Regions from separate parts of the Homo sapiens genome. Here regions 1 and 3 are each linked to region 2. Evidence: promoter capture Hi-C in 16 types of primary human blood cells and fetal thymus (Javierre and others, 2016). All regions are on one chromosome and are shown on one strand. The core of a region is centred on a gene start or on the middle of the fragment in contact, and the rest is flanking DNA. Distances in the headings are between cores, read along the strand shown. Region 1 holds the start of PYCARD (PYD and CARD domain containing). Region 2 holds the start of ZNF267 (zinc finger protein 267). Region 3 holds the start of ITGAX (integrin subunit alpha X).

Region 1 (4,645 bases), core at 794-3,293, 670 kb after region 2:
AAGGATGGGGAGCAAGGCCAGGCACAGTGGCTCACACCTGTAATCCTAGCATGTTGGGAGGCCAAGGCAGGAGGACTGCTGAGCCCAGGACTTTGAGACCAGCCTGAACAACATAGGGAAACCCATTCTCTATAAAAATTTTAAAAACTAGCCAGGCATGGTGGCACAACTGTAGTCGCAGGTACTCAGGAGGCCGAGGTGAGAGAATTGCTTGAGCCCAGGAGTTCAAGGCTGCAGTGAGCCACAATCCCTCCGGTGTACTCCAGCCTGGGCAACAGAGTGAGGTCCTGTCTTCAAAAGAAAAAACAAACAACAACAACAACAACAACAAAAAGGCTTTCAGCAGGGTAGCAGAGCACTGCTCCCCATCGTGGTTTTTGTTTGTTTGTTTTTGTTCCTGTTTTGAGATGGAGTTTCGCTCTTGTTGCCCAGGCTGAAGTGCAATGGTGTGATCTCAGCTCACTGCAACCTCCACCTCACGGGTTCAGGCGATTCTCCTGCCTCAGCCTCCCCAGTAGCTGGGATTACAGGCACCTGCCACCACGCCCGGCTAATTTTTGTATTTTTAGTAGAGATGGGGTTTCACTCTGTTGGCCAGGCTGGTCTCAAACTCCTGATCACCCACCTCGCCCTCCCAAAATGCTGGGATTACAGGCATGAGTCACCGTGCCCGGCCCATCCTGGTTGTCTTGTTTGTTTTTGAGACAAGGTGTCTGTTGCCGAGTGGCACAGAGTGCAGTGGCACAATCATAGCTCACTGCACCCTCAACCTCCTGGGCTCAAGTGACCCTCCGGCCTCAGCCTCCCAAAGCACTGAGATGACATGCGTGATGAGCCACTGCACCCAGCCATGCTGGAAGCTTTTGAATACAACATGCTGCAGGCATCACAGCCTCATTCATTCCTTCACTCAGCAAATCTTTACTCAGCACCTAATGTGTTCCAGATACATTTTTTTTTTTCAGATGGAATCTAGCTCTGTCACCCAGGCTGGAGTGCAGTGGTGCAATCTTGGCTCACTGTAGCCTCTGCCTCCGAGGTTCAAGCGATTCTCATGCCTCAGCCGCCCTAGTAGCTAGGATTACAGGCGCCCTCCACCACACACAGCTATTTCCAGGTACATTCTTGACGCTAGGAATTCAGCAAAGAATAAGACAGTTAAGGTCTCCGATGCTCATAGGCCTCACATTTTAGAGAGGGATGAATGTCCAATAAGCATATAAACGTATAATATGTCAGGGTCGTATGACTACAAGGAACAGTGATTGTTACAACCCAGATGAGAGGGAAAAATAAAGGATTCCAAATATCCCCCTTGGGAAGTAGAGTCAGGATTCAAACAAAGAACTGTATGGCTTCAAGTTCATGGTCTTTAATCTCCTGGAGGCTGTCTCTCTTTCTTTTTTCTTTTTTTTAATCAGTGTTGGGATCAAATTCTGGCTCCCCTAGGAAGCATCTGGCAAGGTTTCGGGAGCCATCGGGTTGGCCATGTTATGCTGGAATATTTATAAGCACCGGAGGGTTATCCCCATGTCGTAGAAAATGAAACTGAAGCTCAGAGAGATTTGCACTCTCTGCCCTTTTGTACAACTCATTTTTCCCCAGTATGTGGAATTGAGGGAGCTTCACGCTTCTAGCTGTCATGATTCCAAGATTCTACGACATGTGGGAGAGGATCCTAAGGTTCGGGGAACCGCGGAGGTTTCGGGGTTCTAGAAATCCGAGGTTCTAAGCCTAGGTGCTCCAATAAACCCAGTGAGAGCCAGCCCAGGTTTCCGGTCTGTACCCGCTGGTGCAAGCCCAGAGACAAGCAGGCGCCACCCATGAGCCCCTCTGCGGCCCCCTCCCGGGTCCCACCTCGCAGGCCAGCTGGAGGGCGCGATCCTGGCGTCCCCCGACGGCCTGGGGCCCCAATCCAGAGGCCTGGGTGGGAGGGGACCAAGGGTGTAGTAAGGAAGCGCCTTTTGCTGGAGGGCAACGGACCGGGGCGGGGAGTCGGGAGACCAGAGTGGGAGGAAGGCGGGGAGTCCAGGTTCCGCCCCGGAGCCGACTTCCTCCTGGTCGGCGGCTGCAGCGGGGTGAGCGGCGGCAGCGGCCGGGGATCCTGGAGCCATGGGGCGCGCGCGCGACGCCATCCTGGATGCGCTGGAGAACCTGACCGCCGAGGAGCTCAAGAAGTTCAAGCTGAAGCTGCTGTCGGTGCCGCTGCGCGAGGGCTACGGGCGCATCCCGCGGGGCGCGCTGCTGTCCATGGACGCCTTGGACCTCACCGACAAGCTGGTCAGCTTCTACCTGGAGACCTACGGCGCCGAGCTCACCGCTAACGTGCTGCGCGACATGGGCCTGCAGGAGATGGCCGGGCAGCTGCAGGCGGCCACGCACCAGGGTGAGCCGCCCCCGTTCCCCTCCACCCCGTCTTTCCCCTCCACCCACACCAGCGCTTACCCCGCGGGCTCTTCCGCTTTCTGTTCCTCCTACCCCTAAACAAAGCTGCTCTACCGGAAAGGAGGCTCCCCACGCTTGGCCTACCGACCAACGGGACCCCGGCCCCACGGCGGGAAGGGAAGGGAAGGGGATCACTTGGCCCATATCCTTCCAGGCTCTGGAGCCGCGCCAGCTGGGATCCAGGCCCCTCCTCAGTCGGCAGCCAAGCCAGGTGAGGCCTCCACACCCAGCCCGGCCCCACCGCACTCCTGCACAGCCTGCATCTGTGCTCCCGCAACCAGGGCAGGGCAGGGCAGGGCAGGCACGGCTTGGCAACCCTGCGCACCCCACCCACCAACCCACACCCTGCGGGGGAAGGGAGACAATATTACCCTCATCCCACTGCATGTGGGGTCCTGGTGGCCGCCCCCTGGAGCCCTGCCCCTAGGCTTGCAGAGGAATTCCTGAAGAACTCAAGTTCAGCAGGGACAGGCCCCACACCCTGGCTGCTGGCTCATGTTCTCCTCCCACCCCCAGGCCTGCACTTTATAGACCAGCACCGGGCTGCGCTTATCGCGAGGGTCACAAACGTTGAGTGGCTGCTGGATGCTCTGTACGGGAAGGTCCTGACGGATGAGCAGTACCAGGCAGTGCGGGCCGAGCCCACCAACCCAAGCAAGATGCGGAAGCTCTTCAGTTTCACACCAGCCTGGAACTGGACCTGCAAGGACTTGCTCCTCCAGGCCCTAAGGGAGTCCCAGTCCTACCTGGTGGAGGACCTGGAGCGGAGCTGAGGCTCCTTCCCAGCAACACTCCGGTCAGCCCCTGGCAATCCCACCAAATCATCCTGAATCTGATCTTTTTATACACAATATACGAAAAGCCAGCTTGAACTTGTGTGTTTTCCTGCTTCTAGCCTGCTGGCATGTGCAGAGCTCAGCTATGCTTCAGAGGCCACCCAGCCTCCAGCTCCATGTCCCTAGGGTCTCTGGCACCCCAAATGCTTCCCCCATCCTTCCTGGTATCGCCATGGAATATCCCTCCTCATTCACCAGGTGGTGCTCCTCCAGTGCTCCCTAAAGGGTCTAACCTTACCATTATAGATAACAGCCTGTGACCCAGGTCCGAAGGTTAAAAGAGGCATGTACCAAAGGGCGCAAACTGGTGGGCAGCTCTGTCCAAGCCATTTAGAAACACACTAGTCTTCATAGCTCCCCTACCTTCCACATTTTCCACTGGAGAAAAATGCAGAATTAGAGAAATTTGCAGGGGGAGACACATTAGAGCATTATCTAAACATAGGACAGAAGAGCACAAGTCACCAAATTGCTCGAGGGCTCCTTCTGGTGCTGGCTCTTAACAGGCTTAAAGGCTCCCTCTGCCCCACCCCATCCCGTGGGGGAAAGGGTCATAGGTTGCACTTTGCTCAAAAAACATGCCAACCACCAAAGCAGATTTTCAGGAAATGAGTTGTGTGTGGTAGCTGCCTCTTTTCTTGATGCGATTTTTTTGGAGGGTTATTACTTATTCATTCATTTGAAAGGAACATTTAAAACTTTTTTTTTGAGATGGAATCTCGCTGTGTCACCCAGACTGGAGTGCAGTGGCGTGACCTCAGCTCACTGCAACCTCCACCTCCCAGGTTCAAGCTATTCTTGTGCCTCAGCCTCCCGAATAGCTGGGATTACAGGCCCCTGCCACCACACCTGGCTAGTTTTTGTGTTTTTAGTAGAAACAAAGTTTCACCATGTCAGCCAGGCTGGTCTGGAACTTCGGACCTCAAGTGGTCCACCCGCCTCCACCTCCCAAAGTGCTGGGGTGCTGGAATTACAGGCGTGAGCCAATGCACCCGGCCACTTTTTTCTTTTTTTTTTTTTGAGACGGAGGCTCACTCTGTCACCCAGGCTGGAGTGCAGTAGCATGATCTCAGCTCACCGCAACCTCTGCCTCCCAGGTTCAAGCAATTCTTGTGGCTCAGCCAGTCAAGTAACTGGAATTACAGGTGCTTGCCACCCCACCCGGTTAATTTTCGCATTTTTAGTAGAAACGGGATTTTGCCACGTTGCCCAGGCTGGTCTCAAACACCTGACCTCCAGTGATCCATCCACCTCAGCCGCCCAAAGTGCTGGGATTACAGGTGTGAGCCACCGGGCCCACCTTCTTGATGCAATTTTTGCCTACAAAGGGAAATATGAGTATCTCTCTCCAGGAAACTTGAGGT
Region 2 (4,369 bases), core at 1,177-3,676:
AACAAAAAATAAAAAATAAACTCAACATCCAGACAAGAGGATAAAGAACAAAGATATCCACTGTCATAACTTCTTCACCCTACAAAAAAAAGAAACTGATGTTTTGATGAAACTATGTAATTCACCAATTTACCACACGTTGTTGTGAAAATGTATTCACTTTCTACAGCCAATAATGAAAGAAAGATTTTCTCTGTTTCTTTTCCCTGGCAGCATTTCCAAAAGGTGAGCCCTGAGATTCTGTTTTAAATTACTCCCAAAAAAAGAACAAACCTGAGAAACTTACTACACTCATTCTGCTGAAAAAAAAGATAGTAAGAATTTTTAACAATGAAGTATGACTTGATATTTTAATTTTCTGAAATCCACCTTTCATGGCCTTGGAAATGTTTTTTATCTTTCAAGCTCTACTGATGAAATTTACACTAACTGAAAAACTGAAGTAGAAATAAATGAACAATCTAAGGCAGCAAACTCAGGGAGTGGTAATGCTGTTGGAATACAGACATATCTGGCTCAAGTGTCAAGTCAGGTCACGGTATCATTTGAGACATTCTCCTACCCCAATACTGCTCATTAAAATGCTCAGGGACCATCCTCCCAGATCCTGCACTGTGCCCCATGGACACCGCAGCCGAGTTTGCACCACCTCACTGGGGTGGGGTTTTTGTTTTTTGGTCCTTTGGGAGTTTTTCTCCCTTCACAAATCTGAATGAATCTAGGGGGCAGGAATCATTTGTGACTGTTTCCCCTCAATACCAGCAAACGATTGGCTGACCAGCAATGTGTCTCCAAGGGATGAAAACTAGCTTTGAAGAAATAAAATCCTTATGTCCCAAGGGGTTATCTTTTTAGGTTAAGGGTGTCCCAGGAGATTTCTCTCAGCCCCAGGGCATCCAGCTGCTCCCCTGAGGGACTACATTTCCATACCTTGGGCGGTCCTCTAACAGGAGGTGACCTGGGGCTGACAGTCACTAAACACTCCAGGAGACATGGCCACTGTGGGCATCTTGAGTCATCCCAGACAGTTCTGAAATTCAGGAACAGGAAAAGACTGGATAGAGGGTGGCTATACAGGGCCCTGTAAAGTTTCCAAAGCAAAACCTCAAGTCAAAAGACATTCTTTCCGATAACGTGTCTGTGCCTGGGGAAGATGAATGAAAAAGAGGCACAGTTTTTTTTGCAGTGGAGTGTCAGGGATTTTTTATTCTCTGCTTTCCTCTCACGTGAAATGTATGCCAAAAAAACACAAATCTTTAAAAAAGTGTCATCCACTGCTCTGTGAAATCATGATTAATGAGTAAAATACTGTCTGAAATGTACAATAAATGACCAATAGTTAAGAATGTGAACTGGAGAGGGGAAGTTGGCCTTTGGAAATGTCGGGAAGGAACTGGAAATTTAATATTTTATTGCAAGCCCAGTTAGACTGGGGGAACACAGTGGTGGACTTGAGACTCTGCGTGCTACACGTTAGGAAAGCGCAGGGGGAAAACCAGTTCCCCTGGGCAGTGTTAAGATGATTAATGAGCAGGCGATTATACGGAAGTGGTTATAGTGCCCCAGGTTTCTAGGGAGAAAAACCAAAACCAAACTCAAATGCTTTTCTTGTAAATTACAACTTTAGGGGAAAACAAAATTCAGACTTAACGAACCACAAAGCTCCAATTCACCTCCACCTGCATAGTCTAAATAAGGCAACTACAAACTGTAACCCATCGGTTAATTTGGTCTGCTTCCTCATGCACCTTATAAAAACCTTTCCTTCAAGCCCCTCTGGGGATCTCCGAACCACAAACCAGGACTGCAGGCTTCCCATGTCACAAATCGCTATTTGCTCAAATTCTTCAACGTTTTAACAGTGACTCCCTTTAATTCTTAAGAGGAGTAGTGACTGAGGACCCCACAGGGCACGGTTTCTTCCCACACACCGAACCTGGGTCTCCCCTGAGACGCTCCCGTCCTCACCGCACAATCTGGGGGAGACGCGGGGCTGCGACGCGGAGCTGCCCAGAGAGGGCTCCGGCCAGGGACGAGGTCGCTCTGCGGGGTCGGGATGGGACAGGACACGCGGGGTCCCGGCTGCCGGCCTGGCCGCCATCTTGCAGCGGAGGGGACCGAGGGCCGAGCTGCACCAGTTGGGACTCGGGGCCCAGACCCCGAGGCTGACTGCGGGGAGGCCCGGGTGCCCCTACAGCGGGTTCCCGCCGCTTCCGACCACCGCCCTCCCTCCCTCTGGGGACCCCCGACCCCGCACACTCACCATTTCCCAGCTTCCGGGATGCCCTGGCGTCTTAGCTACGAATCTCCCAGTGCCTGCAAGTCGCAGAGCAACAGAGGTTCTGTTTATTCTCAGAACGCGAAGCCGCCTGGGCCTCCCAGAACGAAAGACTCGGAGCTGTGGCGAGGAGACCCGAGCTCTAACTGGAGCCGACGAAGGCCCCCGCCAAATCCCGGAAGCCGCCCCTGCTCTCCGGCTTCACTCCTGATTGGACGGTTTCCACTCCAGCGCCCCTGATTGGATAAAGCTCCATGCCCCGCCCCCTCATTATTAGTGCCTTTTTTTTTTTTTTTTTTGAAAGGGAGACTGGCTCATTGAGGTGGGGCCGCCTGCTGCGGGTATTACAGCTAATTAAGGGGTGAGCTGCGACTTGAAATACACTTGCTCTTTCCCTTACCTGGTTCTGCTTGTATAAGACATCTTATTAGCTAATTAAGTTTAAGAAGAAGTATATTTAGACACCTTTAAAGCAAGAAAGACCCTCATCCCGTCCCTTAGCACCTCTCTTACCGCACTGTACCCCACTGCTAACGCCACCGTGGGAGGGGGCCCCTCAGCTGGGAACAGAAGGCCGTACACTTCATTCACGTGTTTTCAATTAGGCCCTCGCATGATACATAGACTGAACCAGTGCAAAAGCATCTTATAGGGGCATGCAGGCTGGGGTCCCAGGAGGATGTTGCGGGCCGTGGTGGAACGTGGAAGAGGGGCTGGCCTATTCTTCTAATCTACAACTCTGCCCGCATCTCCTGGAGTCTGCATCACTGGTAACGGGGCCGCTGACTGTCCGTCTGTCTCTCCTTCTCAATCCCTTCAAGCTCAGGGAAGAAGGGTCCTTGGCAGCGACAGGGCTGGGAGCTCAGTTCCTCTGGGCCGTGCTGGCTCAGGCTCTGTGGCCACGGACTCCTCAGCCCTACCTCTGGTTTTTGCTTTTGTTTTGAGACAGGGTCTCACTCTATTGCCCAGGCTGGTGCAGTGGTGCAGTCATGGCTCACTGCAGCCTCCGGGGCTCAAGCAATCTTCCCACCTCAGCCTCCTGAGTAGCTGGGACTACAGGCACATGCCACCATGCCCGGCTGATTTTTGTATTTTTTGTAGAGATGAGGTTTCACCATGTTGCCCAGGCTGGTCTCCATCTCCTGAGCTCAAGCGATCCTCCCACCTTAGCCTCCCAAGTAACTGGGGCTACAGGTTAATAGTCAGTTCGCCAACTCCTGAGCTCAAGTATTCTGTCTGCTTTGACCTGCCAGAATGCCCTATTCCTGTTTTTCTGGAGTCTTGGAGCTAGTGGCGCTGCAGCACCTCGTAGTCTTCCGGCTGAGTAGATTCTCCTAGTCTTCTGGCTGAGTAGAAGGTGGGAGAGGAGGTGGGTGTCAAACTGGGCCAGGGCCCTCGGCCGCCATCTAGCTTGGTTAAACTCCCACTTGGGACAGATCAGGCTCTGTGCCTTATTCAGTGAGACGTGTGGAACAAATGCTTCCCTCCCCAAAGCAGAAACATCCCTGATTGCTGACAGTCAGGATTCCATGCACTTGTCTTGGCCTGGGGCATGGCTGCCTCTCACCCTCTCACCCAGTTCTAGTCGCTGCACTCTGTGGCCTCCCTGCCACCAGATTAGGTGTAGACAACGGGTGTGGGACAGGGCTGCTGACACCACTGGCTGACCAAACCCCTTTCCCACACTGAAGGGAGAAAAGACAGGAGGTTAGGGGCTCCCAAAGGCAGCACTGCTTGTGACAGCACCACGGGAGTCCTTAGGGCCTACTAAGGGGCTGGGCTGGAACTCAGGATCAACTCTGCCTGACTCCAAAGCCCATGCACCTCCATGGACCTCACAACTCAAGCAGCTTCCCTAGGCCTTTGAAATCCTGGAGATTGACTCTTTTGCGATAGAAGAAAGATTCCTTTTGATTCTCATCCTTCTAGTACTCTTCACAATTGGAAATAATCCCCACCAGAGAATGCTTCTGAAATGTCTTGGAAACATGTAGAATAATTTGGGAAAATGGCTGAAGGCTGAGTTTAAGAAATCAAGGCCTAACATTCTATTTTTCATTTCTTATAGGAGAGATTTGAAAGCACTTATAA
Region 3 (4,774 bases), core at 2,262-4,761, 520 kb after region 2:
CACAAACTGGCACCAGTCCCTAGCCAGTGTTTGTCCTCACTGCTCAGTGCTGAATGGTAGTTTTGTTAAATTTCTTTTTTTAATTGAGATGGAGTCTCACTCTGTCACCCAGGCTGGAGTGCAGTGGTGTGATCAAAGCTCCCTACAGCCTCCAACTCCTGGGCTCAAGCGATTCTCCTGCCTCAGCCTCCCCAGTAGTTAGGACTAGAGGTATGTAACAGCATGCCAAGCTACTTTGTATTTTATATTTATTTTTTGTAGAGATGAGGTCTCACTATGTTGCCCAGGCTGGTCTCAAACTCCAGGCCTCAAACAACCCTCTTGCCTTGATTGTTAATATTTTAAACAAATCATCCCAGGCAACAGCCACACACTGGGCCTGTTCTGTTCTCAGCTTAAATACAGGCCCCCACTCCCCTCCTGTGTGAAGTTAGCATCTGTCCTGAGAAGAGACGATCTTCCAGCACCTGGAGAGGAAACCCCCTTCCATGTGACCTCTCAAGCATCCCCTCTGCCCCAGAGGCCTCCACCGGAGAGACAGGTGTCCTGGGCATTCTGATGGGTGCCCAGGCCCCTGTGGATGGAGTCTGGACCCACGGAGGTGCTGGAAGGCACACCCTATTTGCAGCCAGATGTCAGTCTCACCAAAGGCTTGAGAGCAAATGTGAAACCAGGGGGAGGCCTCAGCCTGCCAAAGCCCACTGTTTTGCTTCCTTATCTTTCTTCCCCATCAGCACCAGGGAAGTCAGGCCCTGCGTCTCAACCTGCATGTGCACACGCACACACACATACATGCACACACATGCATGTACATGTGTGCATGTGCACATGTATACACATGCATACATATACACACATGTACACACACACACGTTGCTCACACTGCACTTTCACTGACCTTTCCTAAACTACGGCACAAACCAATTGGTCATATCCCAGGACCCATTGGATGAAAATAGATCCTCTCCTCTAAAAATAACAACAGCTGGCCTTCATGGGGCTGTCGCCTGGTGCTAGCTGCTGTGCTAACCCCTGGCCATGAATCATCCTGTGTTGCTTTCAGTGCTGGGTGTGTTATTATCCCCATCCAACAGATGAAGAAACTGAGGCTTGGAGAGGTTAAGGTCACAGGAAAGGTCCGGCAGCGTGCGGGCGATCGGCAGGATGTGCGGGCAGCAGCGTCAGGAACCACTGCAACACGTGGTAACTCTTTTTCCAGATCCCTTCTTTCTGATCCACTCTGGCAAGACTGTCTCTAGCCCACCGCACCCCCAATTGGATGTGCGTGAGCTCCTCAAAGCCTTGGTGGTCCCGACACTCACCCTGCCTGGACACCGGGAGCCTCTGGGTGAGCTGGGTGGGGCCCAGGAGGAAGCAGAGTCCGGTGAGGTACATGTTCCTCCCGCACTCGTGGTGCACGGTGGGGCCGCAGGCCTGGGGACACAGCGGGCTGCTGGGGGGCTGCCCCTGCTTCCTCCCACCCTCACATTCCGGAACCTCCACCCTACAGGAGACTCCCAGCCCCCCGCGGCCCCGGCTCCTCCCTCCCTCCCTCAGAAGCCTCCTGTGACCCAGGGCCACTCACCAGCAGCTGGGAAGGGCTGGTGGTAGACGCCAGGGACAGGCCCAGGGACATGTTCACGGCCTCCGGGGGCACTGTGGGGACAGATATGTGCATGGTCACTCTCGGGGGTACAGAGAAGGCTGTGGAAGAGCTGGGCAGGGGTCACCTCCACCTGGGAGACAAGGAGGTCTGACGGTGAAGGAAGCTGTCGGGTCTTGACAGAGCTGCGGGAGTGCGATGGGCGGGGAGGCCTTAAGGGGCCAGGAAGCATATCTGAGGGTGAGGGTCTCAGACACAGTGGAAGCTGAAAGTGACACTCCGGTGAGTCCACGGGCCCCTGGAGCAGGGAAGCCTGGGAGCCCGGCCCTGGGTCCCGGGAGGGGCGGTGACTCACCCTGCAGGCCGATGGGCTCACAGGCACCAGTGCTGTAGCCACACTGGTAGAGGCCACCCGTTTGGTTGGCAGCTGTTATCTTTTGGGGGGCTCCAACCACCACCCTGCGAGGAGACAAAGAACACTTTAGGTAAGAGTGTGGACGCTGCAGCACAGCTGCCACTCCGGCAAGTTTGCGTTCCCTCCCTGAGCCTCAGCTTCCTCATCTGCAAGATGGATTTTAATAATTTAAAGTCCATGTGGAAGGGATTTCTGTCTGTTGGATTCTCTGGCGTATGGAGACAAGAAATATTTGTTGAGTCTGGGTGTGGTGGCTCACACCTGGAATCCCAGCACTTTGGGAGGCTGAGGCGGGAGGATTGCTTGAGCCCAGGAGTTTGAGACCAACCCAGGCAACATAGTGAGACCCTGTCTCTATATATTTTTAAATGTATAGAAAAAAAGAAAGAAAAAACAAATAAGTGTTTGTTGCACGACTGATTCCTACTCACAGGCTGTCGTGTGGACTAAATCAGCATCCACCTGTGATGAGCCTGGCACTGCACTTACTGCTCTGTAAATGTTAGCTGTGAGACCGTGCCTGCCTTCAAGGCAAATCTTCATTAGCCAGGGCAGTCGCTACACCAGACAGAGAGGAGAGTTTGCAAATAACAGGGCAGGGCCGGGGGCATGGGGCCCTGAGCAGGGAGAGGATGGATGGAGCCAAAGGCCAGCACCACCTGGGCCTCACCAGGAGTTGGCATACTGGACCACGCTGTCTCCAAACCCAGCGCTGTCCACACGGAAGGCTGTCAGCTCCTCTGTGTCCAAGTTGAAACCTAGAGAAGTTGCTAAGGCTGGGAAAGAGGTGGGAAGAGAGCTTTGGAGAAGGGTCTTCCTTCTGCCTGGCTGCCCTCCACCCCCGGCCCCAGCGTCCCAATCTCCCCTCCGAGCCTGATGCCCGGGGTGCCTGGGTCTTCTGGACACCCAACTCATCCCCTTCTCTCCTTCCCAGGGTCCAGGGATGCCCCTTGCCCACCATCCACTATCGAGTTGCAGTTCTCCATTTCTGCAGAGCAGTACCCAGGCTCTAAAAAGGATCTTTCCCCAACGTGCACCTCGGGCGCTATGAGAGTGAGTCCAGGAAAACTTGCGGACCAAAGCATCCTGTCCACAGAGCACAAGTTGGCGCATTCTGCCTATTTTAAAAATCTCTGCAGTACAGAGACAACTGGCCTCTCTTCCAGCATCTCTGGAACTCTCCCAAAATTGGTTCATCAATATCCTCTCCCTCCACAAACTCCAAATCTCAGACCCTATGTGCCTGCCTCCCCCTCAGGCTTGACTGAGTCTCTCTTCCTACCCAGATCCTAACCCCCCAGCCTGAGCCCCCAGTTCAGGGCCCTGGCTCCCTTGGGCCTGGGTCCCCAGCCCTACTTCATTGGGGTCCAGGCTCACCTGTGAACAGGAGGAGTGCTGCCCTGGTCCTGGTCATGACTAGAAGGTCAGATGTGGAGCTCTGAGCTCCTGGGCCGTTGCAGGAAGAGCTGGACCAAGGTACTGAGGAAGCAAGTGGGCAGAGAGGTGGCCAGGGGAAGGAAGAAGATTGTCAGCATGAGTCAGAGGGGGCGGGCAGAGTACGCAACTGATCCGAGGACAGGCTCGGCCTCCCACACGCCCCCACCCCCCAACCGGAGTCACTCTCATCAGATGACTTGGCTTGATGCCCTTTGCTTAGATGGATGCAAATCCCTGCCCTGCCCCTCCCAGGCTCACCCTTGACTGCCAGAAGGCACCCCTTGACCTTGAAATTTCAGCCAGACTGGAGGGGGTTTGGGCAGATGCCAACCCCTCAGGACCCTAAAGGAAACCCTGGTGGGAGCCCTCCACTCTGACCTGGAAAGTCTGGGCCAAGGAGTGGGGCATCCGGGTCCCTAGGAGGAGCACAGAGCGAGTATTTGTTCATTCATTCATTCACTCATTTATTCATCATTTATTCAAGAAGCCTAATTTGAGCCTGGAGATGCAAGCCCTCTGCTAGGTGGGGAAGAAAATATAAACCACAAAGCACCAGCCCTGGGGTCAGTGGAGAGGCAGATGTATAAACAGCAAGTTCATTGCTGTGAGGGGGAAGCACAGAGACCACAGGGTGCCTCACCCGGGTTGTGAAGGTGTGGCTTTCTGAGAAGGCTTCCTGAAAGAGGTGGTGCTTGAGCTGAGCATTGAAAGCAACCAAAGTTGGGAGATGACAGAGCAGCCAGACATGGATGAGGCAGGGGACAGGAGGGTCTGTGTGTGAAATCAGCAATGGGAACCAGACAGTCAGGGTGGGAAGTTGTAAGAGACAAGGTCAGGGCCACTGGGAGGAAAGCAAGGGGAAGCAGGCCTCAGGCCGTGGAAGCCCCCCTAATGTACATCAATTTTTTTTTTTAATTTCAGAAACAGGGTCTTGCTCTGCCACCCAGGCTGGAGTGCAGTGGGTGCATAGTTCACTGCTGCTTCGAACTCCTGGGCCCAAGGGATCCTCCTGCCTCAGCCTCCTGAGTAGCCAGGACTATAGGATTGCACCACTGCACCTGAATATATATATATATTTATATATATATATTTTTTAATTTTAGTAGAGACAGAGTTTCCCCATGTTGGCCAGGCTGGTCTCAAACTCCTGATCTCAATCAATCCTCCTGCCTCAGCCTCCTAAATTGCTGGGATCACAGGTGTGAGCCACCACACCTGGTGAAGACACATTGATTTTGTCCTGAGAGTGGAGGACAGCATTGAAGGGAATTCATGGGGACTGAGATCTTCACATTTTCATTTTAGAAAGTGGGTTATAT

The links. Contacts are between HindIII fragments. The CHiCAGO score rates a contact against its expected background, and 5 or more counts as called.
Region 1: the fragment with the promoter of PYCARD here is called in contact with the fragment with the promoter of ZNF267 in region 2 in 17 of 17 cell types (activated CD4 T cells, naive CD4 T cells, naive CD8 T cells and 14 more); the score reaches 31.1 in activated CD4 T cells.
Region 3: the fragment with the promoter of ITGAX here is called in contact with the fragment with the promoter of ZNF267 in region 2 in 3 of 17 cell types (neutrophils, monocytes and megakaryocytes); the score reaches 11.3 in neutrophils.

The regions. Positions count from the first base shown.
Region 1 is chr16:31,200,158-31,204,802 of GRCh38, reverse strand. PYCARD (PYD and CARD domain containing) reads left to right here and starts at 2,043. Exons shown (of 3, transcript NM_013258.5): 1 at 2,043-2,386; 2 at 2,600-2,656; 3 at 2,962-3,317. The coding sequence starts at 2,113. The coding sequence ends at 3,218. PYCARD-AS1 (PYCARD antisense RNA 1) reads right to left here and starts at 2,918. Exons shown (of 2, transcript NR_102400.1): 1 at 2,817-2,918; 2 at 1,351-2,343. RefSeq lists a silencer at 1,693-2,052 and enhancers at 2,163-2,392, 2,582-3,212. The HindIII fragment of the contact is 5,508 bases long and covers 863-4,645 here.
Region 2 is chr16:31,871,864-31,876,232 of GRCh38, reverse strand. It overlaps ZNF267 (zinc finger protein 267), which reads right to left and starts at 2,426. Exons shown (of 4, transcript NM_003414.6): 1 at 2,264-2,426. The coding sequence starts at 2,266. RefSeq lists silencers at 2,145-2,224, 2,375-2,424 and an enhancer at 2,311-2,605. The HindIII fragment of the contact is 12,710 bases long and covers 1-4,369 here.
Region 3 is chr16:31,353,913-31,358,686 of GRCh38, reverse strand. ITGAX (integrin subunit alpha X) reads right to left here and starts at 3,511. Exons shown (of 30, transcript NM_000887.5): 1 at 3,396-3,511; 2 at 2,689-2,794; 3 at 1,959-2,062; 4 at 1,586-1,656; 5 at 1,323-1,434. The coding sequence starts at 3,432. RefSeq lists enhancers at 3,740-3,929, 4,120-4,249. The HindIII fragment of the contact is 18,983 bases long and covers 1-4,774 here.